Regions from separate parts of the Homo sapiens genome. Here region 1 is linked to region 2. Evidence: promoter capture Hi-C in 16 types of primary human blood cells and fetal thymus (Javierre and others, 2016). All regions are on one chromosome and are shown on one strand. The core of a region is centred on a gene start or on the middle of the fragment in contact, and the rest is flanking DNA. Distances in the headings are between cores, read along the strand shown.

Region 1 (2,700 bases), core at 58-2,557, about 70 Mb before region 2:
AGTGAACTGAAAAATCCCTCTCAGATGTATTAATTGGGAGGTCATTGATGATTTGAGCTAGTCCTACTACCCCTCCACCACCCACTGACACAGAGAACCTGAGATTCTGAAAATCATACAGTCCAATTTTCTACTCTGCTGACAAATAATATCCACAGAGGTTACCAAGTTCATCTAGTAACAGCCTCTAATGGCAGTATGGAAAGTACAATGTAAGTCTGACTTCCTGCCTAACATGCATTCTCTTTATTCCTGTAATGAGTACCCCTCTGCCATATGAAGCTGTCTGAAGGGTCAATATGAAAGCAAGAGCTGTCTAGGAAGGCCACAGCAGGCTTACCTCGAGGGCTCCACCCTGTACCTTCTTGATTCCAATCATTTTAAGCTGCAGCAAATCATCGAGCATCATCACTGCATCCACCACCATCTTAGCAAAGAAAGCTTTCTGCTGGGAGATCAGCTTGGAGCTCAGAGCGGTCATGGCACACTTTTCCAGCAGCTTCCTCTGCTCCCTGGGACACAAGGGCAGAATCTGCATCAGGTCTTGAAAACCAAATCCCTCTTATCTGATTCTACTACAGTGTGGAGGTAGTTCCCTTCCAGTCTCTAAACTCAGCCCTCTCCAACTTCACCTTTTGTATCTTTAGGGCAGATTATCAGTGACAGATGGTGACTGCAGTCAAAGATCTCATATGTGGCAGCTTTTAAACTACAGTCGACAGCTTCTTTTGTGCTCTGTGGGCTGGGACACAGCCAAGGGTCTGGCAGGAGCCAAACAGCCCCAGGCACATAGAGGGATTGCAGCATGCTTCTGCATCCAATTTGGCCACAGGAAGTCAGTCAAGGTTCTGACAAAGGCCTGACACGGTGACTCACACCTGTAATCCCAGCACTTTGGGAGTCGCAGGTGGGAGATCACTTGAGCCAGTAGTTCAAGACTAGCCTGGGCAATACAGCAAGGCTCCGTCTCTTTAAAAAAAAAAAAAAAAACCCACTACAGACTTACACTTTATCTGCCTTCTTCACGGTCACAGCAATCTCTTTGATCTTGTTAACTGCCTGCCAAGAACAGAAGTTGAATGAGTCTCTCATGCTAAAGACAAACTGCTGAAGTGGACCTCAATCTCTCAATAGTCCTGAGTCTGTTCACTCCCAAATCCTAAGCATTTCTACTCTACAGCTGAAAAAACACTTCTAGGTCTTGTAACTGCTCAGAAAAATGTAAAACTCTATAGTTCAGAAAATTCCAAGTCAGAAATGCAGAGTGGGTATACAGTTCTGAAGAATCAGGGTGCTTCCAAGATTTTGCTCTGGGTCTGCAGGTAACACGCTACAACGAATGAGTGGAAACAGCTGTGACACGAGATTAAGCCAAACCTCCTGGTTTACTAAAAACACCTACGACAACTTCTAGCACTTTATATATTAGTTATATATAAAATATGCATACAAATATATAAACTTTTTATTTTTTTCCAAAGTACTCCTCATATATTATTTCATTTTAATGTCACCACTCAAATTAGAGATAGCAAAGAAAGTAAGGCCTAGAAAGATTAAATGACTTGCCCCAGATCACAAATGAAGGTTAGAGGGCAAATAATAGCTAGGTCTCAATATACACCATGAGGTGCTTGAGTATAGCATGTAGTAGTAGTATGCCATGAGTCTCTTAGTCCTTACTAAAAGACTATGTCTACATCATAGTCTACCAGGCTGACTCTAACCTGAGGCTTAAAGAGATTAAGTAATACACCTCATCAAATGGCTACAGATTAGTAGAACTGAGATTACTAAGGAGATGTCAGAAAATGCCCAAAGTACCCTGTTCCCCAGTCCCTCCACACTCCTGAAAAGAAATTCCCCTTCCTAAGAGAAATGTGAAGGTGTCCAGGCCCAAGAGAAGGTTAATCAGTACTGCCATACCAGCTGGGTGGCTGTGCGGAAAGCTCGAATGATGATCTGGGGGTGTAAACCTTCCTCCACATAGGGTTTCACCTGCTTCAGAAACTCTGCAGCCAGCAAGGTCACTGAGGTGGTGCCATCACCCACCTGGAAGATGATGACAGGAAATACACGTTTTCTGATGTTCAGGGAATAAAGCCCTGAAACTCCATTTTTAGGCACGCTACCCATTTAAACTGAATATTATTTAAATGGATGTCAAGCTTTTTTCTGGAAGCACAGGTTTTTGCAATAAGTAGAAAGAAGCTAATGGTAGTTACATATCCATCATGTCAAACAGTCCTGGGCTACCAAATTAATTCCCCAGACAGCCCCATTCTCTAAAGAGGGCTGATGTGGACAATCAAATGTCCTCAGGGTAAAAAATTACACACATGAACTGAGAACTTATGTTACGTACAAGGCATTGTGATGAATAAAACAGTCCTTGTCATGCTTATTGTAATACAATACTTAAAATAATCATGGTACCAAGAAGCAAGAGACAAACATTGTTTAAGAAGCAAAAGGTGGCTGGGCACGGTGGCTCACACCTGTAATCTCAGCACTTTGGGAGGCTGAGGCAGGTGGATCACCTGAGGTCAGGAGTTCAAGACCAGCCTGGACAACACGGTGAAACCCTGTCTCTACTAAAAATACAAAAATTAGCTGGGCGTGATGGCGGGCGCCTGTAATCCCAGCTACTCAGGAGGCTGAGGCAGGAGAATTGCTTGAACCTGGGAGGCAGAGGTTGCA
Region 2 (2,700 bases), core at 182-2,681:
ATACAAGCAATTTTAGCAAAATTCACAAACAGAAACGTGCTGCAACAGTAGAACAGATACCTGAGCGATAAAGACGACATGCTTCCCACTGAACTTTTTCTCCAATTCGCGTACTAGCCGGACTTGGATTTTCTGGAAAGATTTCAGTTGAGGAACGGGAACAAAGATTATGATAGCTTTCCGACCACCACCAACTTCAATTTCCTAAAGAAAAAAACAAAAATCCACTGTGTTAACTGCTTCAGAAAGTAAACGTTGTGGTCAAATTAGAGGATAAGAAGACCTTATCACTAACACCGTAGCTGCACTACAAACTAATACTAGTTTTGAGTTAATCATAAATGCATCCTTCGGAAATGTTCTCATCTCTCTCCAACCTTCACATTTCCTTATTCCAGGAAGGGAGACTGTTCAGGCCAGGAGGCCAATCACTACCACTTCTGCACCCCCACTTGCGGCAACTCCGGGCTAAGGGTAGAGAGAATCTCATCCTGAGCTCCCCACAGCTCTTTGCCGTATCTATAACTAAGTAAGGGCAAATAAGGTCCGAAATGGGCCCAGGCCCTCCCTACTCCACGTTTCTCCACCGCCCGCATGTGGACAGCTTAAGCCGCAGGGTACCTGCAACCCCACTCCCCGCACCTGGGCGGTATCACTCCCAAACAACACGGCCGAACCTGAGTTCAGGTTAGGCGGCCAGGCGGCAAGTCATCATCAACCGTAACCCAGGTCCAACCCTCTCAGGCACTGCGCGGGGAGACGCGCCGCAACCTCCCTCCCAGCCGAGGGAGCGCCAGCTTACCTTAGCTGCCGTAATATTCAGCTCCCTGAGCTGAGCCTTGAGGTCCGAGTTCATCTCCAGCTCCAGAAGAGCCTAAGAAGCAACGAACAGCAGGACCGACCCTGAGCGCGCGTCCGAGCACCCCGGGCCCAACACACGCGCGGCCGCCTCCCCTCCCGGGCGGGGCGCCTCCCCCCACCCCAGACCCCAGGGAAACCCTCTCACCTGGGAGATGCCGGACTCGAACTCGTCCGGCTTCTCGCCATTGGGCTTCACGATCTTGGCGCTCGAACTGAACATGGCTTTCTCCTGGGAGAACTGAAGGCACAGCGGTCAGCGTTACGCGGCCCGGGCTGCAGGCGCCGCTGGCTCGCCCTCCCGCCCGCACCCCCCGGCCAGGCCCCGCTCGCCCCGCAGAAGCCATCGGAAAGCACAGGGCGGGTAATCGGCTGTATCCCCACCCTGTGAGCAAGGCTCGCCCCTCCAGGGCCTGACTCCAAAAGGCGTTTTCCTCAACCCAAGAAGAAAAGTTCTGTCGGAGAGCAGGCCGCCAACCTACCTTGCCGAGCGCCGGCTTAGGAAGAGACCCAAATCTCGCGAGAGCACGTCAAAATCCGGCGTCCGAAGGCAAGAGGCGGAAACAGCGCGAGGAGGAGGGCGGAAACCGGAACATCACTGAGAAGCGGTAGGAGGCTAGAGAGTCCCAGGAAGCGGCTCTGGGGACGAGTGTCTTGGTAACGCTTTTCCGCCCTAGGATTCGTACTTTGGTGCCGTTTCCGAGCGTTCCGGTACCGGCTCCCAAGGTTCCCGTCTTCAGTGCAGGTTGCAGGCGGGAACCGGCCTCGTCCCAGCCCTGGGCCTGGGAGAGAGAAGGAGGCCGAAGAAAACCAACTTCGGCAACCTCCGGAGACAGGACGTTTAAAAAAGGCTAACTTGGCTGGGCGCTGAGGCTCACGCCTGTAATCCCAGCACTTTGGGAGGCCGAGGCAGGAGGATCACTTGAGCTCAGGAACCAGCCTGGGCAACATGGCGAGACCCCATGTCTACAAAAAAAAAAAAAAAAAAATTAGCCAGTCATGGTGGTGCGCGCCTGCAGTCCCAGCTACCCCGGAGGCCGACGCGGGAGGATCGCTGGAGCCGAAAGGTCGAGGCTGCCGTGAGCCGAGGTTGCACCACTGCACTCCAGCCTGGGCGACAGCGCAAGACCCTGTCTAAAAATAAATTTAAAAAAAATTGCGAGGCCTTCATTCTATGCTAGTACTGTACTAGGTGCTAATTATTAAGTAAAACCGACTGAACTCTTGCCCTCATGGAGCTTACAGTTCAGTGGAGAAGACATTACCTAAAGCAGTATGACTAAATATATAATGACATATTGTAATAACTTACATAACAGTACAATGAGAGGGTGGGGAGGGATTATTTATGCTTTAAGAAGTCGGGAATCCTGGAACGGAATGACATTAGACTGAGACACGGAAGAGCCGCAGGATCTATTGCTGGGGAAGAGCATTCCAGACAGGGAGGAACTCGTGCCGAATGATCCCGCTGTGGACAGGGAATTTAATCTGAGCTTCGGTTTCCTCTTCTGTCAAATGTCATGCAAGAGTTACTTTCAGCCGTGGTCCAGGCACTGTGAAAAATGCAGAAGCCACACTAGGTGCCCTCTCTCAGGATTCCCAACCACCTTTACCAAGCAGAGATGGTATTCATCCCACATTTTTAATGCTAGATATGCTCCCGCCCGGTGCTTCTCTAATAATGTTTTTTAAAAGGTAAGTGACTGTCTCCTTGGAAAATTAAGGATAACTTGAAGTTTCTTCCAGATAGAAAGTAAACTACAGCTGCGTCTACAATCTCATCTGGGCAGTCGTTCTGAGCCCTTTTGTCGAACTAGGTCCATTTCCTTACTCCACATG

Evidence for each region. Contacts are between HindIII fragments. The CHiCAGO score rates a contact against its expected background, and 5 or more counts as called.
Region 1: a contact is called between a fragment that was not itself captured here and the fragment with the promoter of RPS7 in region 2, in 1 of 17 cell types (total B cells). The highest score is 6.7, in total B cells.

Annotation. Positions count from the first base shown.
Region 1 is chr2:73,242,356-73,245,055 of GRCh38, reverse strand. It overlaps CCT7 (chaperonin containing TCP1 subunit 7), which reads right to left. Exons shown (of 12, transcript NM_006429.4): 4 at 1,927-2,052; 5 at 1,007-1,059; 6 at 341-512. Among named protein-coding and RNA genes, the nearest start is that of CCT7, 9.4 kb to the right of the region's middle. The HindIII fragment of the contact is 1,727 bases long and covers 444-2,170 here.
Region 2 is chr2:3,573,991-3,576,690 of GRCh38, reverse strand. RPS7 (ribosomal protein S7) reads right to left here and starts at 1,431. Exons shown (of 7, transcript NM_001011.4): 1 at 1,341-1,431; 2 at 1,007-1,099; 3 at 803-874; 4 at 61-204. The coding sequence starts at 1,081. It overlaps LOC124907726 (a long non-coding RNA gene), which reads left to right and starts at 1,582. Exons shown (of 2, transcript XR_007086196.1): 1 at 1,582-2,556. RefSeq lists a silencer at 885-1,174 and enhancers at 726-1,302, 1,303-1,878. The HindIII fragment of the contact is 5,628 bases long and covers 1-2,700 here.